Regions from separate parts of the Homo sapiens genome. Here all the other regions are linked to region 6. The links are contacts of gene promoters, found by promoter capture Hi-C in blood cells and fetal thymus (Javierre and others, 2016). All regions are on one chromosome and are shown on one strand. Each heading gives the region's core, a stretch centred on a gene start or on the middle of the fragment in contact. The rest is flanking DNA. Distances are from core to core; before and after follow the strand shown. Region 1 overlaps MIR4290HG (MIR4290 host gene). Region 2 has its middle 5.1 kb from the start of MIR4290HG. Region 3 has its middle 26 kb from the start of MIR4290. Region 4 has its middle 49 kb from the start of MIR4290HG. Region 5 has its middle 68 kb from the start of MIR4290HG. Region 6 holds the start of GADD45G (growth arrest and DNA damage inducible gamma). Region 7 has its middle 26 kb from the start of MIR4290HG.

The links. The method cuts DNA at HindIII sites, captures the fragments that hold promoters and counts their contacts. A CHiCAGO score of 5 or more calls a contact.
Region 1: a fragment that was not itself captured here is called in contact with the fragment with the promoter of GADD45G in region 6 in 11 of 17 cell types (M1 macrophages, M2 macrophages, naive B cells and 8 more); the score reaches 12.0 in M1 macrophages.
Region 2: a fragment that was not itself captured here is called in contact with the fragment with the promoter of GADD45G in region 6 in 14 of 17 cell types (M1 macrophages, M0 macrophages, M2 macrophages and 11 more); the score reaches 14.4 in M1 macrophages.
Region 3: a contact is called between a fragment that was not itself captured here and the fragment with the promoter of GADD45G in region 6, in 17 of 17 cell types (M2 macrophages, M0 macrophages, M1 macrophages and 14 more). The highest score is 48.5, in M2 macrophages.
Region 4: a contact is called between a fragment that was not itself captured here and the fragment with the promoter of GADD45G in region 6, in 17 of 17 cell types (M0 macrophages, M1 macrophages, M2 macrophages and 14 more). The highest score is 52.6, in M0 macrophages.
Region 5: a contact is called between a fragment that was not itself captured here and the fragment with the promoter of GADD45G in region 6, in 17 of 17 cell types (non-activated CD4 T cells, M0 macrophages, total CD8 T cells and 14 more). The highest score is 58.5, in non-activated CD4 T cells.
Region 7: a contact is called between a fragment that was not itself captured here and the fragment with the promoter of GADD45G in region 6, in 16 of 17 cell types (M0 macrophages, M1 macrophages, M2 macrophages and 13 more). The highest score is 18.7, in M0 macrophages.

The regions. Positions count from the first base shown.
Region 1 is chr9:90,024,737-90,028,464 of GRCh38, reverse strand. It overlaps MIR4290HG (MIR4290 host gene), which reads left to right. Exons shown (of 4, transcript NR_038882.1): 3 at 2,366-3,728. Among named protein-coding and RNA genes, the nearest start is that of MIR4290, 3.1 kb to the right of the region's middle. RefSeq lists an enhancer at 3,529-3,578. The HindIII fragment of the contact is 8,601 bases long and covers 1-3,728 here.
Region 2 is chr9:90,044,796-90,048,439 of GRCh38, reverse strand. No RefSeq gene overlaps it. Among named protein-coding and RNA genes, the nearest start is that of MIR4290HG, 5.1 kb to the right of the region's middle. The HindIII fragment of the contact is 2,701 bases long and covers 277-2,977 here.
Region 3 is chr9:89,995,744-89,999,388 of GRCh38, reverse strand. No RefSeq gene overlaps it. Among named protein-coding and RNA genes, the nearest start is that of MIR4290, 26 kb to the left of the region's middle. The HindIII fragment of the contact is 5,680 bases long and covers 1-3,645 here.
Region 4 is chr9:90,088,334-90,092,109 of GRCh38, reverse strand. No RefSeq gene overlaps it. Among named protein-coding and RNA genes, the nearest start is that of MIR4290HG, 49 kb to the right of the region's middle. The HindIII fragment of the contact is 6,772 bases long and covers 1-3,776 here.
Region 5 is chr9:90,107,563-90,111,242 of GRCh38, reverse strand. No RefSeq gene overlaps it. Among named protein-coding and RNA genes, the nearest start is that of MIR4290HG, 68 kb to the right of the region's middle. The HindIII fragment of the contact is 6,474 bases long and covers 1-3,680 here.
Region 6 is chr9:89,603,093-89,606,460 of GRCh38, reverse strand. GADD45G (growth arrest and DNA damage inducible gamma) reads right to left here and starts at 1,449. Exons shown (of 4, transcript NM_006705.4): 1 at 1,287-1,449; 2 at 928-1,029; 3 at 581-794; 4 at 1-492. The coding sequence starts at 1,339. The coding sequence ends at 382. It overlaps LOC105376139 (a long non-coding RNA gene), which reads left to right and starts at 1,445. Exons shown (of 2, transcript XR_930105.3): 1 at 1,445-3,368. RefSeq lists a silencer at 2,080-2,129 and an enhancer at 1,740-2,638. The HindIII fragment of the contact is 4,421 bases long and covers 1-3,368 here.
Region 7 is chr9:90,066,117-90,069,531 of GRCh38, reverse strand. No RefSeq gene overlaps it. Among named protein-coding and RNA genes, the nearest start is that of MIR4290HG, 26 kb to the right of the region's middle. The HindIII fragment of the contact is 4,200 bases long and covers 1-3,415 here.

The sequences.
Region 1 (3,728 bases), core at 599-3,098, 420 kb before region 6:
AAGCGACTGTACATTTTGCATCCCCATCAGCATTGAATGAGAGTTCTTGCTGCTCCATGTCCTCACCAGGATTTAGTGTTGTCAGAGTTCTGGGTTTTGGTGTGTGGTGGTATCTCATTGTTTCAATTTGCAGTTCCCTAATGACAATGATGTGGGGCATCTTTTCACATGCTTACTTTCCAGCTGTACCTCCTCTTTAGTAAGATTTCTATTAAAGTCTTTCACTCATTTTTTAATCTAGTTGTTTGGCTTCTCATTCTCTTGATGTTGTCTTTTGCTGCACAAAAATGTTTTATTTTACTGAAATCCAGTTATCAATTATTTCTTTCATGGACTGAGCCTTAGCTGTTGTATCTAAAAAGTCATCACCATACCCAAGGTCATCTAGGTATTCTCCTATGTTATCTTCCGGGAGTTTTGTTTTACATTTTAGACTCAAGTCTATTGCCTACTTTAGTTAATTTTGTGAAGAGTACAAGATCTGTATCTAGAACTTTTTTTTTTTTTTGGCATGAGGGTGTCCAGTTGTTTCAGCCCCATTTGTTAAAAAGACATTTCTCCATTGTATTGCCTTTGTCTTAGTCAAAGTTCAGTTGACTATATTTATGTGAATCTATTGGGCTCTGTACACTGTTCTGTTGAGATGCTTGTCTATTCTTTCACTGATACCACACTGTGTCAATTACTATATGACAAGGACATATTTGTATCCCTCCAAAATCCATATATTGAAACCCTAATCCCCAATGTGAAAGCATTTGGTGATGGGGTCTTTGAGAGGTAAATAGGTCACAGAGTGAAACCCTCATGGTGAGATTAGTGTCTTTACAAGAACTGACTTGAGAGAGCTTGTCTTTTCTCCCTCTGCTCTCCACTGTGAGATGACTAAAAGATGACTATCTGTGAATGAGAAAGAGGGCCCTTACCAAGACCTTGACCATACTGGTACCCTGATCTTGACTTCAAGCCTTCAGGACTGTGAGAAATAAATGTTTATTGTTTAAGCCACCCAGTCTATGGTGTTCTGCTATGGCAACCCCACTAGGTTACATATGAGGCTGGTGTCCTGGCTGCCCCTTGTAGGGCTCAAAGGTTGGACCACAGACTTGATCGGTGTGATTCAGTAACATGTCCTTGTTCCACAGTATTCATTTAATTCTAAAAGGAATACTTTAAAAACTCACTAAAGTCTTCCATCCCTTCTTTCACACAAACCAAAGCAGCATTTTCAGCACTGCGGTATGTGATGAAAATATGGCACCCCAGGGGGCAAAAGAATCTTTTGTGCAAATGCAGATGAAACATCAGTTGTGATTTGCAGGACATAGAAGGGCCTGGATCTCAAAGATTGCTTGTTTCTTTTGCAAACTACAAAGTAAATTCTGTATCCCCCAACTGCCACCTTCTGACTTCTGTTCACAAACATTGGGCCAAGAGAGGCCTGAGGTCAGTATACATGCCTGCAAGTGGCCTTCTTGAAGGCTTGTTTGCTTCATTTTTATGCCTACAAGGTTGACATAGAATTGAGTTGTCCTCTGCATGGTTGCTGAATCATGATATATCATTTAGTAAGAAGAAAATTGTGACCAGGTGCTACAACAAAGTTAAGGGATGATGAAGTTTGTGAGATATGATTTATGAACACAGTTAAGGGTGGATGGACACACTGGAGAATTTGCAGAAATAGGCTGGTGAAGGAAGGCATTGGAATCTACCCATGGACTTTTATAACTAAAAGATTGAAATTGACTTTCACCTTTACCACCCCACCCCTTCCTCACCTCAACTCCCCTACACCATTGGAGGGTTACAGGAAGCAAAATAGAATGTTCCAGGTTGATCTACCTGATACCTTGAGGAAAAGGCACTGGTAGGTTCTCACTAGAAGAAATATCAACAGACCACAGATCCTATTCTTCCCACCCACATTTCCCTTTTAAAAGTGTAAATTTTGGAGTTAGCTCTGGGTCTGAACCCCAGCCTGTCACAGTAGGGACAAGTTACCTACATGCTCAGAGCCTCTGTTTCCTTGTCAACTAAATCAAAATAATATAGTTGTCTCTACAGCTGAACTTGAGATGTTGAAATAATATAGATACAGAGCCTGACAAATAAGATGCCTTCAAATCATTTCTCTGATTTGGACAATTTTCACTGAGTTATTTTATTTAGTATCTGTGTGGACCTGTCTCTGTGCTAGGAACTTTCATGCCACCATCTTGTAAGGTTAGTGAGCCCCCAAAACTTAAAGAAAGGGATGCTATGTCTGCACCAAGAAAGCTAAGAGGCAATTAAAAATACCTATAAACTGGCAAGCTACAGCTCCTGTTTCTTTGTTCACCTGTTTTGTTTTGTTTCCACCCAGATGATGCCAAACAGTCACTGCAGAAGAATTTGCTGCACGGAGCTGTCTGGGATGCCTCAGACCTGCCAGCGGTAGAGCTGCCTGCCTTGCTTCCTCTTGCTTACTCACAGCTCTAAGTCTGAACTTGGCTGCAGCTGTCCTGAACAGCCCAGGAGGAGCCTAGGCAGGAGGAGGCTTCTCTCCTATGCAATTTGGCTGAATTTTAGTTACTCAAAAGAGCAAAGGAAGCACTTCTGAATATTCGTCAGGAGGAGCCAACCACCTTAGCTTGCTCCCTGATGGGTTTTGTTCAGCCCCTGCCTTACTGTTGTCAGCCTGGACTGTCTTCTGGGCTTGGGTTCACCATGTGTCTGGACCACGGGAGTGTCTCTAGGTGTCTCCCTTCCTGTGCATTTCTCCTGGGCATAGACACCCATCCTGTGGAACACTGGGAGGAGGGTGCAAGACCCCACTGCACCCAGGCTTGGTTCCTCTTGGGTGCAGCAGCCTCATCCCCTTGCAAGCCTTCCTCCCACTCCTCCCAGAAGGCTCTGCTTCCTCCACTTGCTCCTCTCCTAGGTGTGAGCCAGCAGGGTTTGGTCACCCAGATATGAAGTATTAATGTTGGACTCCTGTCTGGAGTCGGGAGTCTATTAAGGAAGACGTGTGGGAGAGGCCTGTGTTCAAGGCCCTTAGAACCATTCTGCCTGAGCCATCAGCTCCTTAAAAAGAAATCACCAAAGATCCCAAACAATGGCAGAGTCCCCCTCCCACCCTTTGGGCTACTTGGTAAATAGGCCCACCAATTCTATCTCCAAAATATCTCCCATCAGGACCATGTGTATATTGACATCTTTATCTTCCATCAGGTCAGGGTTGCCACAAAAGCCTCCATCCAAATTTCCTGAAAAAGCCCAGTTTCTCTAAATGTGTGCATGAACACGGTGCTGGGCATGGCCCTCTCCTCTCAGTCCTTCTGCAACGCCCAGTGCCTTCACAGCCAAGGCCAGACTTCCTAGTGGAAGAGCAAAGTCCCTCCTGACACGGCTTCTGCTTGCATCTGCAGCCCCACTTCCCCCACACCACGCTGCACCCTGAGCTCCTCACGGAGAGCCACCGTGTTTCACACCTGCCGTGCTCTGGGCCAGGTCGCTGGGCTTGCTGGTCCTTAGACTTGGAGCACCTGATGCTGTTTGCCCATCTGTGTCCTTGTCAGCCTTTGAGAATTGGATCTGGCAGCCCCTCCTCAGGAAGCCCATGAGAGCCTCCGCCCCATACTCACACAGACCCTGAGCTAGGTGGCCCCTGCCTGTGTCCCTCAGCTCCCAGCCCAGCTTCCATGCAGCTTTAGCACAGTTTACCAGCACCATCAAGACCCCTCTGG
Region 2 (3,644 bases), core at 378-2,877, 440 kb before region 6:
GCAATACATCAAAATAATCGTACATCACAACCAAGTGGATTTTGTTCCTGAAATTCAAAGCGAGTTCAATATTCAAAAATCAATTACAGATACTTTTCAGCTTACCATGAAGTTATGGCCCAATAAACCCACTCATTAGTTGAAAATATCGTTAAGTCAACAATGCAGTTAATATGCCCAACCTACCAAACCTCATAGCTTAGCCTCGCCTACCTGAATTGTGCTCAGAATATTTCCATTAGCCTACAGTTGGGAAAAATCATCAAACACAAAGCTTATTTTATAGTAAAGTATAAAATGTCTCACATAATTTACTGAATACCATACTGAAAATGAAAAACAGAATGGTTAGATGGTTTTGTACTATTGTAGAGTCAAAACATTGAAAAATTTTAAGTCATACTATTGCAAGTCAGGAACTGTCTGTGTGTAACTGACCACATTTACAAGCTAAAGAAGAAAAATCACCTGATGACATCAACTGATGTAGAAAAAAGCATTTGGCAAAATGCAACACTGATTCATTTAAAAAAAGAGAGAGGGAGAAACAAAAAAGAAAACTTTTAGAAAATAGTAATAATAGTAATAAGGGAGAAACAATAAAGAAAACTTTTAGAAAATAGTAATAATAGTAATAAGGGAGAAACTTCCTCAACTTCACAAAAAGCATTGGTAAAACCACAGCTCACTTTATACTGCATGGTGTGAATGCTTCCCCCTAAGATTTGGAGCCTGGCAGGGATGTCTGTTCTCATCATTCTTAGTGAATACAGTGCCAGAAGTTTTAACCAGTTCATTAAGGCAAAAAAAAAAAAAAAGAAAAAGTAAATAAAAAACAGAATGCAATGAAAGAAATAAAACTGTCCCTACTTGTAGTTGGCTTGATTGTCTACTCACAAAATCCTAGAGAATCTACAAAAGCACACCTAGAAGTCTGGGCGTGGTGGCTCACACCTGTAATCCCAGCACTTTGGGAGGCTGAGGTGGGCAGATCACGAGGTCAGCAGATTGAGACCATCCTGGCTAACACGGTGAAACCCTGTCTCTACTAAAAATACAAAAAATTAGCCAGGCATGGTGGTGCACGCCTGTAATCCCAGCTACTCAGGAGGCTGAGGCAGGAGAATCGCTTGAGCTGAGATGGCGTCATTGCACTCCAGCCTGGGCAACAGAGTGAGACTCTGTCTCAAAAAAAAAAAAAAAAAAAAAAAAAAAGAAAGAAAGAAAGAAAAAAGCACACCTAGAACTAACAAGTGGACTCAGCAATATTTCAGGTTAAAAGAGAAACATACAAAACTCAGCTGTTTTTCTGTACTCTAGAAGAGAACATGTAGTCACAGAAATTAAAATATAATACCATTTACAATAGCTAAAAGAAATGAAATACTAAGGTATAAATCTAACAAAGTATAAACAGAATTTGTACCACAGAAGGCTGATAAAAGAACTCAAAGATCTATAAAAGTAAATAGAAATACCATCATAGATTTAAATAATAGATTTAATCATGGATTCAAAGACATAAGAGAGTGAGGATGTCAATTCTTCTCAAATTGATCTATAGGTTTAAACAATTTCTTTCATAATCTCAGTAAGACTTTTGTAGATTTGGACATTATTCTAAAATGTGTGGAAAGGCAAAAAAAAAAAAAACCAAACAGCTAGTATAGCTAAAAGAACTTTGAAAAAGAATAACTTAGAAGTAATTAGTCATCAAGACCAGTATGGAAATCTGGGTTTGGCCACCCACGGGCCCCATGTGCTGCAGCAGATGGCTCGATCTCACAATCTCAGTTTCCCCAGATTTAAAACTGGAGGTAGGACAGTAACCTCTCTATCGTGCTCCTGTGGGGGTGAAGTGAAGTGATGCACGCAGAGCCCCTGTAGCGTGCATGGCCCACAGGGAGCATTCCACAGCTGCTGCTTCTTCATAAAGCATCATGTGCAGGCAGCCACTGCCCCTGGCTGTGCCCACCAGGTTACAGAACATGAGAGCACGGGCACCTCACTCGGGCACACCACCCTAAGTATGGTGGGCTGTGGACATCCCTTCTCCACTTGTCTCCCTCACACATTTCTCCAGAAGTGCTCTGGGCCAACATCAGAAACCAGGATTCCAGCTCCTGTTGGAGATGAAGACCTGCATCTGATTGCTGCTGCCTGCAGAAAGGACAGGGCTGCCTCAGTAGGACCATGCTGACATGAGCCTTGATCTGCCCCTGCTCCCTGCCTCCTTCCACCTATCAAAGAGGTGATGTCACATTCATGAAGACGATTCTTGTCAGAAAAGAGGGAAGCCAAGTCCCAAGGCACTTTCCAACTTGCTCTATCTCCCTGTGACCCTGTTTCCAATGATTTGGGGCTAGTGCATTTCTTCTTATAATTGTAGTAGAAAGCGTCTAGAAGGACCCCAGTACATTTGGTATTCACACCCTTTGTGATACCTTCTTCTTGAGTGAGGGTGGGACCCAGTGACTTGCTTCTAACAGAGACCATATGGCAAAAGTGATGGGATGTCACATCTATGATGAGGTTACAGAAAGACTGCATTCTGGCTTGCTCATCCTCTCTTGTCTTATGCTCATAACTGCAGAAAGTCAGCTGCCACAGTGTGAGCTGCACTCACAGTACAGACACACCTTGCCAAGGGACACACAGCTCCAGCCGACAGACCATGAAGATCTGAGACCCTCCATCCAACATCTGCAAAGAATGGCATCCTGCTCCTACCCAGGTGAGTGAGCTTGGCAGCAGATCTGACCTGTTCCTCAAATCTCAAGATGGACGCAGACCCACAAACATGCAGACTGCTACTCTGAGACCCTGACCCAAACCACCCAGTGAAGCCACACCTGGATTCCTGACACTCGGAAACTGAGATACTATAAACGTTTGTTGTTTCAAACCACTAAGATTTGTTATGTGGCAATACATCACTAATATCATTGTGTTAGGTCTTAAATCATCCTAAAAAGCTTCTTAGGTGAATCCTTTATTTCCACTGAAATACTCCCATTATCACAAATAAAGGGACGATGAGAAATTGACATGAAATTCCTAATGCCTATACAGTAATCTTAAGTGTCCAACACTAAACCTGTATTATATACCAAATACTGTATGCATTTCATACACGGCCCATGAGACACCCTATTGCTTCCTTAATCTACTTTTCTACTTCTGATTTATTTTTTAAATGGAGCTAGGCTTTAAAAAAAATATATTGAGTGGCCCCTTCTACAAATTGCCAGCTATCCATAAATTGTTCCAGTGCTGATAAATGGATGCATGCGTGCCCCTAGGAAGCTGCAGCCTGTGGTGAGTCACTCTGTTGCCTTCCTCTGAAGCGTCCAGGACAACTGTTCTGGCCTGAGATGAATTGATCATCATCCAGGCACACAGGGCAGAGGGAGGCCCTTGTCTCCACTGGCCCGGCACACCGGGAACAGTTACGGTTTTTCTTTCATTGTATTCCCCTGACTTTGGAGCTCCAATTTACCTTTTCATGAGTTTTTCATTCCATTGTTTGCTGTCATTTCTGTCACTTCCTCCTAGTTGTTGTAGCACAAATGGAAATGCACCAGTCACCTGCTCTCACTTCATGTCCCCCGCCTCCTGGAGTGCACAGCTAACAGACTTTAAAT
Region 3 (3,645 bases), core at 1,106-3,605, 390 kb before region 6:
CATCGCAGAACAGCTCAGCACAGCCTGGCAAGGCCAGCAAGCCACTGGGCAAACCGGTTATCTCAGCAGGGCCCAGCAACAAAACTTTCTGCCAACTCAGGTGAAAGAGAGTGAGTACATGTCTGTAATGTCTCTGTGTATGTGTGTGTACATACAACACACACATACAGACATATATATACATATATATTGAGGTATATCTGCACATATATATGAAAGTATATATTTAACAGTAAATGTCCCACAAGTACAGGAAGCTGCATAAAGCAAACATGAAGTTTAATGAAGTCCTATAAGGCAAAAATGCTTGTAACCCCCAGCACCCACTCTAGAGCCTTCCCACCCCCCTACAGAACCCCACTCCCAAATCTCTCCTCCCTCCTGGGGCACAGCTGGGCTGAGTCTTATGGCCATTAGTTCTCTAGTTTTCTTTGTCATTTTATTACCCAAGTGAGATTCATCCTCCATGGAGCATAGTGTTGCCTTTTATCTTTGGCTATGCCTGATAAGTCAGCAAGTGCCCACGCCTGAGGTAGACATGGATATACATATATGCATGTGTGCATATGCATGAGTATGAAAGCAGATGCTGTAACATGCTTAGAACAGAATCCACACTCCTCTCCCGTTCAGGCTAGTGCCCTGCTATTTGGAACGCCATTTATTGGATAAACAACAGACAAGTATAAATTAATACCATACTTTAAAAAAAAAAACTGCATGTGGTGCCTCAAGCCTGAGCCATTAGAACAATTCCCCGAGTATGAGTGTGAAGCTACTCCCAGAGCCAGGAGGCCTCCATGTGTATCTCCACCACTCCCTCTGCAGCCCCATGGGTGGTGAGCCTGGGGACCCCAGTGAAACCATCTCCAGCTCCTACCAGATTTCCAGCTTCTTGAGGAAGGAGGCCGGCAGGGCTCAGTACATTGGCCACAGAACGCAGCCGGAGAAGGAATCCAGGGTGGTCTAGGCCAACCCGTACCCCCTTGATGGGGTCGATTGCCAAATGTCTGTGAATTTCGGGACCAGTTGTTACACACAGCCATTATTAAAAATTAAAATGAATAGATTTGCAATAAAATAAATTATATTAAAATTCAAGATAATAACCCCCACATTGTGTTATTATCAGTGTTCTCTAGGCTGCGTGTCTGTTTATCTGTCTGGTGATATATGTACGTCATCGTACTTAAGGTAGTGGCTCTGCACACCCTTTCCAACTCTGTTTTTGGTGACATGGCATTAGCTTTCCATTGGCTGTCATGGGAGGATTTATACCACAGACAATGACAAATATTACAAACCAGGTGTCCCATACATAAACACAATATACATCCATCCATATGCATATACCAAGCACACATATACTTACATGCCACACTTATATGCATGCACCACACAACACACACACACCACACTACACACAATACACTGTTGGTTCCTCCCCCAAATCCTCTAAGATTAAGAACTGGAAGCCAAGCATCTTTTAAGGCGGCCTTCCCAACCTGAGACCTTGGGTGGCCTCCCAGGTCTGAGAGAAGTTGGGATGTCTCATCCCCACCACAGGGAGGTGGCTCTGGGCAGGGCCAGAACCTGATGCGGGGCTAGTGGAGGCTGCAATGTGGTCAGGGATGGCCTGAGAGGGCTCAAGGCCCTCTGAGCAGAGCCCTGCTCACACCCAGGGTCCTTCAGTCAGGCAACAGTAGCCCAAGGTTTTCTTGGGCGATCTATGTCCCTGGCAGCATCTGCCCCCTTGGAATTGCAGGTGGTCTGCAGCACCTCCACACCTGGAACCCCACGAGGAGCCTTGCCTCTGCCTTCACAGCCTGTTTTTTGAGGACAACAAGGGGGCTCTGCCTGGTGCTGGGGATAGATCAGGAAAATGCCCCTGTTCATCCATCTACCTCCTGATCTCTTTTCATCCCAGACTGGCACACAGCTCCTGGAACCCTGGGAGTTTGCTGTTTTCTGTGTGCTAATGAGATGGTGGGTGGCTGAACTCTAGACAGTTTCAGGATGGCGGCTAGTGGCCAAAAAGACCAACCATGATGCCACTTCATCCCCAACCCAGAGAGGGGGGGAGCAGCTGGAGACTGAGTCAGTCACTAATGGCTAATGATGTATCAATCACACCTACATCATGGAACCTCCACAAAATCCCCAAACAAAGGGGTTTGGGGAGCTTCCAGGGTGGTAGAAGCATCCACATGAAGTGGGGAGCTGTGCACTGAGAGGACAGGGAAACTCCACACTTGTTTCCCCAATACCTTCTCCTATGCTTCTCTTGCATTTGGCCACTCCTGAGTTTATCTTTCATAACAAAACCATAATTGTAAGTAGAGTGCTGCCCTGCATTCTGTGACTCATTCTAGCAAGGGATTAAGCCTGGGAGAAGGTCATAGGAGCCCCTGATTTCACAGCCGGATGACCCTTGGGCCTTGTGGCTGGTGTCTGCTGTGGGGCAGAGTCATAGGACAGAGCCCTTCACCTCCAGTGTTCATGGCATGAACTTGTTGGACACCCAGGTGGCGCCGGATAACTGGAGAACTGAGAATTGAGAATTGCCACTTGCAATGACACCAGACAAGTGCAAAGTCAGACAAAGTCCTGTGTCCTCTCTAAGAAGGCCAATGCCCCTAGTTATTCTTTAAGCCTGAATCCAAGGGTCTCTACTATGTCTCCTTCTTGGCTGTGGAAGACAGCCCCCTCCACCCTCCCATCCCACTCCCCGGCAGTCCCCAGAACATTTCCATGGCATTTATCACTACAGAGAGGTTTGGATAGGTCTAGGAAGTTAAGACCTCCATAGGCCAGGTGGACCTGGGCTCACCCATCCTTTTCCTGCCACCTGTGCCCCACCCACATCTCCAGAGCCCAGACCCCAGGTCTGGAGCCTCTTCTCACAAATACACCATGCCCAGCCGTCACACCTGGGACCCCATGATGCTGTATGTTTCCTGCTGTGTCTCCCAGCAGACTCTGCTCCACCACTGCCACCTGGGCAATTCGCAGCAAGTGCATCCAGACCACAGGCATTGGCAGCAGGGAGTCAGGCCCGGGGCAGAGACAAGAGCCAAATCCTGATGTTGACATGCAAAGGATGCCACACCTCCAGGGACATCCAACAGGCAGCCAGTTCCAGCCAGTTCCAGCCAGTTCCAGGGGATGAAAATACAGAGATCCTTTACCCGCCTCCACCCCCTCTCCAAGCAAAATTGCCCAGTGCTCCTTTGAAGACTCCGAGGTTGCATCTAAAATGCTTCTGGAAATTACTGTTTGAGGTGTCACCCACCTCCCACATCCAGCCCCTCACAGGCACCTCAGTTGTGCAAGAAGGAGGAAGAGCTGGGGGAAAGATTAAATAGAAGGTGTTGGCGGGAGTAGGGGGAAGATGAAATGACAGGAAGATAAACACGGGGTCCTACACCAATGAGACCCAGGGTTGGGGCTGGGTGACCACAGCCAGCCACTTGATGTCTCCAGCTCTCTTTAAAATAGAGACGGAGTGAAATCTTTCTTGTTGTGGCAACAAAGTGAGGGAGGCACGAAGAACCTCTGTGAATGTGATGAGCCCACTGAGGAGAGGCGAGACCACCAGGGCAGGCGGGGCTGTCCTCACCAGCTGGCCCCCTTGGGCCCAACACC
Region 4 (3,776 bases), core at 1,245-3,744, 480 kb before region 6:
ATCCATCCATTCAATAATATGAATGGAGTGGTGTTAACCCTTGTAATTCCAGCAACCTCCCTCATTAGCAGTGTGATGAAAACATTAGGACATCGGCTTACAATCTTGGTGGTACATCAGAACCACCTAGAAAGCCACCTAAAATTCCCAATGTTTAGGTAATCTTACCTCTGGGTATTTCCCTAAATAATTTTTTTTTGGGGGGGATGGAGTTTTGCACGTCGCCCAGGCTGGAGTGCAATGGCACGATCTTGGCTCACTGCAACCTCTGCCTCCCAGGTTCTAGCGATTCTCCTGCCTTAGCCTCCTGAGTAGCTGGGATTACAGGCAACCACCACCACAGCTGGCTAATTTTCGTATTTTTAGTAGAGACGGGGTTGCACCACCGTTGGCCAGGCTGGTCTCGAACTCCTGACTTTAGGTGATCTGCCCGCCTAGGCCTCCCAAAGTGCTGAGATTACAGGCACGAGCCACTGCGCCTGGCCTGCCCTAAATAATTGAAAGCAGGGACTTGAACAAATATTTGTACACCCATGTTCATAGCAGTATTATTTACAATGAACAAAAGGTGAATACAACTCAGGTGTCCATAGATCAATGAATGGATAAACAAAATGTGGTCTGTCTATACGATGAAATGTTATTCAACCTTAAAAAGGAAGGAAATTCTGACACATCCTACAACATGGATGATCCTTGAGGACATTATGTTAAATGAAATAAACCAGTCACGAAGAGACAAATATTATATGATTTTACTCATATGAGATACCTAGAGTAATCAAATTTATAGAGACAAAGTATAATGGAGGTTGCCAGAGTCTAGTGGGAGAGGAGGATCAGGATTTGTTATTTAATGGGTACGGAGTTTCCAATGGGTATAGAGTTTAGTTTCGCAAGATAAAAATTGTTCCAGACTCGGATTGTGGTGACAGTTTCACAACAATGTGAATGCACTTAATGTCACTGAACTGTACACTTAAAAATAGTTAAAATGGCAAATTTTATGTTATGTGTATTTTACCACAATTTTTGAAAACCTAATGTTTAGTCCCTACCCCTGATTAATTTGATTCCTGGAAACAGATCCCAGGTACCAGGCTCCAATGTACAGCCTAGATGGGGAGCTCGTGCCTCAGGTGATTTCACGGCTATGAGAGGTCAGCGGGTTTCCATGGGGCTGCAGTGGAGTTGAGGAGGCTTGCCTTGAAGAAGCTGATATGCTGCAAATAGGTAAAACAGAGGAATTCCGACCAGATCTCTGGATTACTTGTGGAAGTATTAAGGTCTTCTTTGGGGGTCCACTTCTGAATTTACATGGATATTCACCCTCAGTTACCTATGGTCACTTGATTTAATGAATGTGTGTTGAGGACCATGATGCTCCCACAAAGACCCCTGCCTGCATCCTCGTCAGGGAGACAGACAGAGTTTAATATCTATGCAAGTTTACACAGTACACTAAAAGGTGGTAACTTTAATGAAAAACATTGAGCAAGTTAAAGGGAATTAGGAATGGGAAGATAAGGTGGTAGAATGAGGCAGTTATTTGGAGGTTATTATTTTTAAAGGGGAAATTTTGACTGGATACTGTAAGGCTAAAGACAAGAGGTTTTAATTACATAAAACCAGTACTCTACAGGGTTTATGTAGAGTTAATTACATAGGACTGTACTCTAGTGAATACATTTGTTTCTCACAGGAGTAGAGATTAGCGATTCTGAAACAACTTTACCTGTGTACTAGAATTAAACAGGTGAGTAAATAAATTATAGATCATGAGACCCAGGATTCTTACCCACAGAGAAAGAAGTTACAAGTAAGCAAGAGGGGAAGAAATGCTAGGATAAACTCTATTCTTCTGGTTTGCAGTTGGAGATATTAATATGAATTCTGTTTATTTTAATGTGTCTACAAATGAATATACAGAAATAAATACATATGTATGTTTACACATGGGTTAATATACATACACTTTTTTTTTTTCTATTTCTGCCTGCTGAGAGGACTTAGAAACTGTGACATCCTAGTAGCAATAAGCACACACCAGCACCTAGAATTTGGTGTCTAAAATCATTCTCCAATAAAAAGAACCAGGACTCCACAGACAATGTCTGATGCTAGGGCTGGGGAAGGGAAAATAGAAGGTGAGCTTGGAGCATCTTATTGTGCCAGAAAGTGAGCAAGTGATTTAAAACAATTGGAGGTTGGAGGTGGTCATAGGAGTATTTCAAAAGGAACAAACCTGAAGGAGCTACCAATGGTCATAGCTGCAACAATTTTAGCAAGAAAAAGAAATGATTATTGTATTTGATTGTAACCCAAAGAATAAAATAAATAGCCATGAGTTCATGTTGATATAAATAAATGACTACATAAGTAAGATGGGAGAGAAGAAACACATTTTTCCTATTGAATAATTCCAATTAATAAATGCAAGAGGATTGAGAGAAATGGAAATCACCACGAGAATCCCACAGCCATAATTGCAGCAGGGAAGACCCACTGATGAATGCTTGATATTTCCACAATCTCAGAGTATTTACCCCCAAATATTTCCTAATTACTGTGGTAGTTTAAAAATATCTCCCCAAATACTTTAGCATTCTTCTTTTCTGGAACTGAAACTTAGTTGCCCTCCCCTAAGGAACAAAGCATGGTAAGGGAAAAATAGTGACTTTTCAGTGGAGAATAGTGACTTTTCAGTGGCTGACACCACCTTAACCAAGTGATGCGGGTGAACAGGCAAACAAGTGAAGGGGTGAACATGACATTAACATCACAGGTGGTTGATATCATTCACCCCTTCATGTATGATGATAAAAGGCAGACAGACACAGCCCCCCTATGGAATTCTCCCTCAAGATTCACGACTTCTGTGGCACCACGAGAAAACAACAGACAACCCCAGTATGAGGGAAAGTCTGCAAAATACTTGATGAGTATTATTCAAAAGTATCAAGGTCACAAAAAACCCTGAGGAACTGTCACCAATTCCAAGTGACTAAAGAGACATGACTACTAAATGTGGTGTAATATTCTGGATGGGACTCCGGAAGAGGAAAAGGCCAGAGCAAAAAGCTGGTGAAATCTGAATAGTCTGTAGTTTAGTGAATTGTGTTGTATCAATGATGAGTGCACCGTGGTTTTGTGAGATGTTGACATTAGAGGGAGCTTGGGAAGGACCAGAAATTCTCAGCACTATCTTGTAACCCTTTTGTAAATTTGAAATTATTTCAAAACAAAAAAGCTACATAAAAAGAGAAGGAACCACTGGCCTTACGGAGATTTTGACAAGTAATAAAAAATAATTGCCTGCATGAGGCCAGACTTCCGCATGAGAAAGCCCAAAGGCTGGTTCCAGATGCTCCTCTGTGAGACCAGGCCGGCCTGACCCCTTTTGTGTGGCTCTGTGGCAAAGGCTGACAACTGTGCCTCTGGTGATGGGTGAGAGAAAATGAAGGCGGAGGGACAGGTTTCTTTCCACCACAAAGCTGAATCAGGGCTGGACCACGGCCCCTTCCACAGCAGTGAGTTCCAACAGCACAAATGCAATCTGTAGACATTTTCTTGGCTGGAAAAGAATCAGGTCCAACTGGAGGCACCTGTCAACTTGAGCTGATTACAGATCAAAACGGGATGGTTGTGGACTCCTGAAACTGCTGTTGGGGTTTTCAGTTTAGTCTTGGTGTCTTCACGTTTTTTTCCTTCTGATTTCATCTCTACATCTCGGGCAAAGTAATCCATCCACAGCAAGGAGCAGATGCACCCTGCTG
Region 5 (3,680 bases), core at 1,100-3,599, 500 kb before region 6:
CTTTGCTAGAAGCTCTGCTTTCTCTTGAAATGATGCTTGCTTGCTTTTATATGTTTTCATAAAGCCAATTCTTAGAGTCCTCAATGAGGTTGGAGTGTTAAGACTTTTAGCATAGGCTCTGTCATCTACCTTTGGTCCCTTCTTGCTGTTATAACAAAAACACATTAGATGGGATGATTTATAAACAATAGATTGATTTCTCAGTTCTGGAGGCTGGGAAGTCCAAGATCAAGATGCTGGCAGTTTGATATCTGCTGAGGGATATTACTTCAAGATGGTGTCTAGTTGCTGTGTCCTTCCCTGGTGGAAGGACAGATCAAGAAAAGGGACAAATACTCTCTCTCAAGCCGTTTTATAAGGGCACTAATCCCATCCACAGGGGTGGAGCCCTCAGGGTCTTATCACCTCCAAGGGCCCCACCTATTAATATTGTCACCTTGGGAATTAAGTTCCAACATATGAATTTTGGAGTGATACATGCATTCAAGCCATAGCATATCCCCAAAGTAGTAAAGACAGCCAGATCAAGGGCCTGGGGCCATTGGACAATTGAAAATCCTCACCTTTTGGCAGGGGTTGTAACCAAAAATCAGGCAATATTTGCATATCATCTGGCAATGTTTGCGAGCAATAAAGAGACAATATTTAAAAATATATAATGGTGATTTTTGTCTCTTGGTGCCCAAACTTATATCTTTTTATAATAAAAATAATCAGAGTAAGGTGCAGAGAGAGGCAAATTATTGCAGATTTTAAGACAGAAGTGAATCTCCGAAAAGTGTAAAAAAATGTATATTTGATTTTAGAGATTCTGTCATTTGCCCAGAATTTATACATCACTTACCATGTGCCAGGCTCTTTTGGGTGCAAAGGAAAAGAATTAGACAATCGCTGTCCTTCATGGAACTTCCAGTCCTAGAAAGGAGAAAAATGTATTTAATAAATCACAACATATTAAGTGATGGTATACAGAAAATGCTGTGAGAATACAGACAAAGGAGTGGGAAAGCCAGCATCAAGTAACAGATAAGACTTCCTGAAGATGTCACACTTTTGGATACAGTTTGAAAGCTCTCTAGCAGTTCTTCAGGTCAAGAAGAAAGGAGCAACATTCTAGGCAGAGGGAAAGGAGGGCATGATTGAGTTTGTACTCCCCTAGAAGCAGATCCCAGTACAAGGATGTGCAAGTAGTTTATATGGGACTGTAGGGAACACAGGGAGGTAAATGAGAAAATGTTGAAGAAAAGAAGGGCAACTGGAGAAAACATACAGCATAAAGTTAGCAAGCAAAGTGAGCATTTGGAACCTAATTTCACAGGGAAACTGGGAAATGGTGAAGAGCACACACCTAGAGGAGAGGGAGCTGGGGTATTTATACAGTCATATACTGCAGCCCATTGGCGATGGTCATACCTGGCCTTTCATTAGAAGGGCAGTGTAGTTTTGACTTGGCTTTGGAGAATTCCTAAAGGCCCAAATACACAGATACTGGCAGTCAGAAGTCACTGGAGCATTCTAAATAATAATGCCTGAAAAATTTCGGCAGGGCAAGAGCAGATTCTGCTACAAAACATGAGCCACTGAGATGCAAACAAAGCAAGTGTGTTCACAGATCATTCTCTGGGGTTGGTCAGAGCAGCCCAAGATAAACCTGGAAATGCTGTTGTTTATTTCCTTCTTTATCATACTTCGACAGGTGGGAACTGCTATGGTTTGAATGTGTTCCCCAAAAGCTCATGTGTTGGAAATTTAATTCACAATGCAACAGTGTTGGGAGATGGGGCCTAATCAGAGGTGATTGGGTCATGAGGGCTCTGCCCTCATGAATGGTTAATCTTTGGAGTGGTTAGTCAAGAGTGGTTGTTATCAAGTGAGTCTGGCCTGGTTCTCTTTTGCAAGTGCTCAGTTGCCCATCCACCCTTCCACCATGGGATACCATGGGATAATGCAGCAAGAAGGCCCTCAGCAGATGCAGCTGCCCGATCTTGGACTTCCCAGCCACCAGAATTATTAGCTAAGTGAAATTCTATTCTTTATAAATTCCCCTGTGTGTGGTATTCTGTTATAGCAACACAAAATGGACTAAGATAGGGGCTCATGACTGGGGAGAGACTGCTGCTCCCAGGGCCAGCCAGTTCTCACAGACAGCAGACTCTCCTGGGAATGGGCTTTTTATACACAAACCAATGAACCCAGAGCCCATGTTCCATACCACCTCCTCTGTCTGACTGTTATACTACAGGAGGCAATGTTCCTCTGCCCTAGTCATCCCAGGGCCAGCAGCAGACAACTAGAGACATCCCTTATGCTCAGAGTTCATGGGAATTAAACTAGAAAATTCTAGGCTGCTTACTCTGCCTTGCCCATTTCTTCCTTTGAAAACCACAATAAAAGCACTTTCCCATGTTTTTCCCTCTATCCTCTCTGCCTCCTGGCCAAGCCTTGTGCCTCCCCATGTGGCCCAGCATAGAGTGCTTCCTGTTTCTAGGGAACTATGAGCAAAAACTTCTTCCTCCATATCAGTCATTTCTGTGTTGTTTGCCCTACCACACCTGCTGAAGACAAATTTCAGGTACATTTTAACACAGAAGACACAGTGCAAACAGCCATAGGGGGCCAGGGCAAAAGACCCGGAATGTCTCCTCTGTGTCCCTGGAGATTTTATTCTTGGTAAGTACACACACTTGCATAGTAATTACCCTTACTAAGTTGAAAGACGAGTTTGCTCAACTGGATACAGTCTCTGATGACAATTTTCTTGGATGTCTTCCCTCTCTAATAGCCATAGGACTCTATTTTCTTTCTGGCATTCAAGTTCCTTTGATGTGTCTAAATGCAGCCTGTTTCCTCCAACCAGCCTGTGTTTATGCTGGAAATACAGATCTGGGGGACATGGGGGTTGGGGCTGACATTTGCTGTGTCCAGGATCCTGGTCCCATATGCTGCAGTGTGAAGTTTTCACAAAGACAGTGGCTTCCCTAGATGGACTTCCTGCCTGAGCAAAAACGGGTCATCATCAATAACAACAATAAAAATCAGCAAAGTAGTCATATACACATAACAGTTTTCCTGAGTAGAAGATCAGTTGGAAGAAGGACAAGCAAAGACTCTCCTGGGAGTGGGTTTTTTATACACAAACCAACCAACCCAGAGTCCATGTTCCAAGGGCTGAGTCACTGCAGTAGGTTGTTGTAATTGTCCAGTGAGAGAGAGCGTAGCCTCTAGTGGAATGGCAGGCCTAGGAAAGAGAGGCAGGGAAACCAATGCCAAAGGGTTTAGGAGGTGTCTGCATGGAAGAGTGCAACTAGTGGGCACGTGGAAATGAGAACGACAAGGAGGAAGAGGAAGAAAGGATGATTACTAAAAGTCTTGCTTAATTAGGTAGTGCTGTTTCTAACCAAACTAGAGACTATGGAGAAAGAAGCAAGTTTAAAGAAATAAAAAAAAAATTAAGTTTTGGACGTAGGTATCTGTGTTAAAACCAAATGGTTATGTCTAGTAAGCTATCTGAATTATGAAATATGCATAAATATCCACACTTTGGCTGGAGATTAAATTTGGAAATATCCCATGGTAACTGAAATCCTGGCTGTGTACAAAGTCCCAGAGTCTGAAATGAGAAAAGAAGAAAGCAAAAGGTATTCACACTGACAGCTCTGTTGTCAAATGGAACTCTGTTA
Region 6 (3,368 bases), core at 200-2,699:
CAGTCGGCTAAGTCCTTCACGCTCCTGCAACTGTACCAAGTCCAGGGCGCCGCTCCTTCCTGCCGAGCGCAGGCTGCTGAGTCACGCCTGCCCGGCCAGTCTGTCCTTCCTGGCCCTGAGGCCAACGTCCTAGCCTAGGCCTTCCTGGGCGAGCAGCCGCTCCAGACACTTGCAGAGTCCTCAGCTCGGACCAGCCTGGCCCTGCCGCCACCGGGCCCCTCCTCGGGAGGCCGCGCCTCCTCGCTCTCCAGGCGCCCCCCCCGCCTGCCAGTCTCCACGCCGCACTCGGGCACCCTCGGAGGGCCCCTCCACAGAGCCAGCCGCGCTCTAGGCGCCCCGGGGCGTCACCACGTCGATCAGACCAAGGTCCCCGCCGGGCTGTCACTCGGGGAGGGTGATGCTGGGCACCCAGTCGTTAACGCTGCGGCTCTCCTCGCAAAACAGGCTGAGCTTCTCCAAGGCGGGATCCTTCCAGGCGTCCTCGTTGGGGTTCTGCGGAGAGAGAGCAGGGTCAGCCTGGCTGGCCGCGGGCCGAGGCGGGAACGACACTGGGGCGGGGACAGGACGGGACTGTACTCACCGAAATGAGGATGCAGTGCAGGTCGCCCGGCGCACCCGCCTCCTCGCCGGCGCCCACGATAGCCGCCAGCCGCTGCACATCGCCCACGCGCACTATGTCGATGTCGTTCTCGCAGCAGAAAGCCTGGATCAGCGTAAAATGGATCTGCAGCGCGATGTCGCCCTCGTCCTCCTCACCCGCAGCCAGCACACAGAAGGTCACATTGTCGGGGTCCCTGCGAGGGCAAGGCGGGGACCTAGGTCAGAACCGGCTAGCCGAGTTCTCCCGCCGCCACCCCTCCCATCCGCCAGTCTCCTCGCCATTCACCCCCGCCCCTGTCTCCCAGCCTGGGCCGCGTCTACACTTACACGTTCAAGACTTTGGCTGACTCGTAGACGCCGGCAGTGAGGCAGCCCTGACGCTGCGCCGACAGCAGCAACTCATGCAGCGCTTTCCCGGCACCCTGCATCCTGCGGAGGAGCCAGCGCAGTGAGCGGGAGCCGGCCGGAGGGCGCGGCGGAGACCCCAGCCCCGGCCACCGGCACACACCCTTGGCTCCCCAACTCCAACCACACTCCAATCCCGGCTCAGCGCCTGCACCCCGGCTCTCCAACCGGGATCTGGCGCCCGGACCCCCGCGCTCCCCTCCTACCCCGCGGATTCCCACCCTGGAAAACCCTGACGGTCGCCGACCGACCAGCGGCTTTCTCAGCGCCCTGAAACCCACCTGGCTGTGCTTTCCGGAACTGTGTCCTGGCCGCGGACTTCTTCCAGAGTCATAGTGCGATCAACCAGCAGCTAGTTATCCACAAGCGGAGAGCGCGGAGGGGACGCGGGCGAACACACTGACAGCCAGAGCTCAGCACGGCGCGCCCACCACCAGCGAGTGCGCCCCTACTACGCTGCGCGCCCTTATATAGGCTGGTGGGTGCGGCGCCGCCAGCTGGCGCGAGGCTGCGCGCCTATTGGCCGGCACCCGCTTTCTGATGTAAATGAGGCGGCGAGCCAGCGGCTCGTGCCAGAAGGCCACGTGGGGAGGGGTGCGGGGGATGACAATGCCTCAAATCTGCCGCTTTTGTTGGGGTGTTACCAGGCAGACTGGAGCCTGCAGATTTCATCTCGCCTGGCTTTTTTTTTTTTTTGAAGTCCTTAAAAGGAAAAAGTAAAAAAAAAAAAAAAAGAAAAAACCCAACCCACAAAAACCTTGTTTGCTTATATGATGCTGCAATTTGCGAAAAGCACCTTTATAGAAGCAAAGGGATTTTTTTTTGCATTTTGTATTGCTACCTTTCTATTTGTTTCTTTTCTTTAATTTGAAGTCTATGAGACTGTTGCATTGGAGCCAGAAATTAAGGTAAAAACAGGTAGCGCCAGTTAGAGGCTTGCAAAAGGCAGTGGGCACAGCCCCCTGCAGCTGACCACTAGCGTCCCGAGCGCGCTGGTGATGCCTGCCAGGCATACTCAATGTGTACATTGAGCCGTCTCTGGAAGATCCCACCCCACCTCCCCGCCCTTGGCCGAGCGCGGCGGGGCGCGGGAGACGGGGGCGGGCGGGGACGAGCAGATTGCGGCCGGCGCACGCCGCTCGTTTGCATTTCTATGGAGGGCGCACAATAGCAGAGGTCTGGCGTGTGGCGGTTTGCTGTAGGGACAATCGAGGCTTTCTCTTCATAGCAACACTGTCCACCTGCCGCCGGGTGGGGTGGGCAGGACCCCGCCGCGCGTGGGGGTCGCCGGGCTGCCTGGCGCGTGGGGTCGAGGCTGAGTGCCACTCCGTGGTCCCTGAGTGCACGCCCCCAGTACTGGCCCTGCTACAAGTAATTCCCTTCCATCCGTTCCTCGCACGGGTGCCGAACAGCCGCGCGAGTTGGGAAGGACGGAGAGCTGCTGTGCAGTCTTCGCGGCTGGACGCCCTGTGGCCGGGACCCCGCGGCTGCAGCCCCTGGAGCTTAGGTAATGCAGCTCGGAATCTTTCCCGGGGCGCCATCTGCAGGCAGGTTAAAAAGATCCTGAACCCCTTTTGTCCTCCCCTCCCCCCAACACACACACCCTTGCATTGGCCTGGCGCGGGGGAAGGGCGGTGGAGAGGGACGGCCACGGAGCTGCCCGGCCGGGCCCAGTGAGCCCTGTCCAAGCTGCGCATAAATAGAACCCGAGTAAGGGCTGCAAAACGCATTCAGGTGGGACTGCAGTTACCCTGGGGAGTAGAGGGCAAAAGGAAATTCCCATCCAGTACTGATGGAGTAAGAGCCCCTACGTCTTATACCATGTTGAAATATCTTAATTACTTAAATGCGCATATGTAAAAAGCCTTTTTTCCGGCAATGGAATAAGTCTGGAAGAGATCTTGGGAGAGTTTAATAGGCTAGAGGTTGCTGCCGTTTGACCATACACGCTGGCACTTTCAGAGGATTCACCCACTGAGCACCTTCTGTGCTACGTGAAAAGGCGCGCTGGGGGACACCTCATTGCTTCCTTTTTTTGGGTGAAGCCTTGGAGACTGGCCAGGACAGTGGCGGGCCGGGTGGATTGGATGGAAACCCGGGCCCTGCCGCAAGACTGGGGCGATAATGGGAAAGTAAACAACGCCGTGGCTTTGTTCCTTTCATTCAGGCTTTCTTCAGGTGGGTGGTGAATGTACAAGGTACTTCTGAATTTGTTATGGGGAAGTTTCCATTCTGCGCTTGCAGGCAGGCACTTCTGCCAAGGTGAGAAGCTGGCGTCTTGCGCCCCCCAGCGGCTTCCTGGCAGAGGAGAGCTGCAAAAGCCCGGCCCTTCCTGGATTCTAAGAATGAAGAGCTTGCTCTCC
Region 7 (3,415 bases), core at 169-2,668, 460 kb before region 6:
GGACCTCCCAAGTAGCTGTTTACAAGCACGAAATACTATGACCAGCCCTCCAACTTTATTCTTGATGGTAAGTTTCCAAATTGCTTACTTTAACTACAAGTGCCTCTGAGCTTCTAACTTGGGTTATACTCAAGACTATGTTTACTCATCACAACATTGAAAGTTGAATCCGTCAAAATGTTCAAAGCACTCCATGCTGGTCCTTTTGTTCAAGTTAGACCAGCCCAAGTCACTACTCTTACCAGACAGAAACCAGAGTATCTACAAGGGAGTAAAAGCATCAAGTGGAAAGACAGGAAAAGCAAGAGTCAGCGTGGTCTCTCCTTGGAAAAAGGCAACCAGGACTCAAGAACAGGCTTCAACTAGCTACTTGCCTGGTAGTAGGTTGATTATAGTACAGTTTATTGTCCAAACAGGAAAGGGATGCTCTTCATAATTACACTGGAACAACAAGCATGCATCTGGTGTAATTCCATTTATGTAAAATTCTAGGAAATGTAAACTAATGTATAGTGACAGAAAGTATCTTAGTGTCTGCCTGGGGTGGGGAGGAGGGTTGGGCCGGAGGGAGTAAGAGTAAGCATAAGGAGACTTTAGGGAAGATTGGCATGTTCTTCACTTGGATTGTGGTGATGGTTTCACAGGTGTACACAAATGTCAGAACTTTTTGAGGTATACACTTTAAATACATGCAGGTTATTGTTTGCCAATTATATCTCCACAAAGCTATTAAACAGTCTATACCACAGCCAAGATTATGTTGCTGGACGTTCTGATAGTATCTTTTTGTAAAAGAAATGAAAATATTGCAAAAACATCTTTTCTAACCTCCTAACCTTCCCTTATTCTCTCACCTCCTACGCCATTTCCCCAAAGTAACACCTATCAAGATGGTAGCGTACTTTCCAGGCACAATTTTATACATATTCTGTGTGTACATATCCATTAAGTTTATTTGTTTTCTTTTGTGGGCGCAGAATCTTTGCATAAGTATTATCATATTGAGGAAATTATCTAATTTGTGACCACCGGGAGAAAAAAAAATTCTCCTTTTGCTGTCTTCTCTCCAGATCTGAGTGCCAGCTAGCCTCCTGGGGTTGCTTTTCAGGAGCCCTTAGGTTATGACCCCTGTTTATTAGAGGCGTTGTATTCTCCTTGGTTGCACTCCTTTTGTTTGTTTTTGCAACAGTGTATTTTCAAGAGATCTTAGAAAATATTTTTCTGCACCTTCAGAAAAGTACATAGATGAAAAGTAAACTTTCTAATCCTTCCCCGAATGTCTAAAAGTGTATTTTAAAATTTTTTTCAATTACATTTGATCTATAGTTTGACTGGGAATAAATTTTAAGTTCCAAATCATTTTCCTAAGAACATTCAAGCACTGTTCCATCATCTTTTAAAAACTAGTGTTACTGATGGAAACTTTTCTACTAGTCTTTTTCTTCTTCCATTGCAGGTAACATGCATGTTGCTTTTAGAATGTTTTAGTGTCTTTGTTTTATTCTTAGTTTTCTGAAATTGCCTTAGGATGTGCCTAAATGAAGATCTAGTTGAATATGTATATATTCCTTTTTTCTATCATTGTTTAAAACATATAATAAACTCCCCCTTTTTTCTCTCTCTTTTACTTTTGTAGACTCCTAATAGAAGATAGCATTTCTGAATGAGCAATCTCTGTTCTCTGTCTCTAGTTTTCTCTGTCTCTAGTTTTCTCTGTCATGTTTCTCATCTCTTTGTACTGAGACATTTCTTACTTTATAAATTAGTTCTATTGAACTGTTTTCTTTAGGTACAATATTTTTAATCCCATGAACTGATTCTATGTTCTGATTTTATACCTTCCGAACAATAGTCTGTTCTTAAATTGCGAATGTAATTTCTTCTCTTCTAACTCTGAATAGAGGTTTGAAAGTACCTCTTAGTTCTCTGGATTGTCTTTGTTTCTTTTCTTTTCTTTTTTTTCTTTTCTTTTCTTTTTTTTTTTTTTTTTCTTGAGACAAAGTTTCACTCTTGTTGCCCAGTCTGGAGTACAATAGCACAATTTTGGCTCATTGCCACTTCCGCCTCCCAGGTTCAAGTGATTCTCCTGTCTCAGCCTCCAGAGTAGCTGGGATTACAGGCATGTACCACCACGCCCGGCTAATTTTTTATTTTTAGTAGAAACGGGATTTCACCATGTTGGCCAGGTAGTCTTGAACTCCTGACCTCAGGTGATTCACCTGCCTCGGCCTCCCAAAGTGCCGGGATTACAGGCATGAACCACCATGCCCGTCCGATTATCCTTGTTTCTTCTGGGATCAATTCTATTCACTCCCTCCTAGACCCTGTTCTTTTCTTTCATTTTCCTTTGATTCTTTTTCTTGGAGTATGAGTTTATAAATAAATCATATGGATGATTTATTCAGAGAGTTCACAAGGTTTTCTTCTACCATTACTCTCATTTTTTGGTCCTTCTCCAGGGTCTGAGGGCTTCTTGCAAGGTCTGACTACAGGTAAGATACATCACCTGGTGACTTCTTTAAGGGTATAAATAATGATAAGGGAAATTGGCAGGCCTACTCAAGCATCAGATACAAAACTGGGCCGTATCTCAGGGCCTCTATTGTTTTAGGAGCCCTAGCTTCTCTCCTAAGCAGGCATTTCTGCCTTTAGTCTGGGAGTAAATACTGGCTGTAGGAACAAAAGGTGGAAAAGCCTACCATGACCCCAATTCTATTCTCAGAGTTGCTCTAAACTTATTCTGTTTATATATTTCAATCCCAGGATCATGACCCAAATAAACTACATGCATTGAATCTGCTCTCAGTTCTGGTTCTGGAGGAACACAAAGATATTCTCCTGAATTCAACACTTGCCTGCAGAATCCAGAGATTTCCTTTCTTCAATTCACCAACTAAGGGTTTGTAAATATATTACATGTCACTTTGTATTTTTACAGAAAAATAGTGTATATAAACTCCAAAGCTGCCAGAATCACCGCTGTCCATTTTATGACACTGTAAAATGAGGAAGGTTTTTGCATAGATTGCACTGCACTGCCCTTCTTGAATCTTTCATGCACTAACCCTGACCTTGCCTTCCACAGCAGACCAGAAAAAAAATAATTCTATAATCTAATAGTGTCCACTTACTTTTGACTTCTGGACAACCCTGGTTTTTATGAAAGATTTCCCTCCTGTGCTTTAATAATTAATAGGTTGGTGCAAAAGTAATTGCGGATTTTGCCATTAAACCTGCAATTACTTTTGCACTAATGTAATAGCTAACAAAATAATGCATTGCATTGTATCTATTCATCAAGTTAGTTAAATAATGAGTGACTGATCACCTATTTGGTGCCAGGCCTTTTAGAAGATATAACATCCATCATCACAGCCCATCACAAAGTTTATAGTCTAGTGAGAAAGACACACAA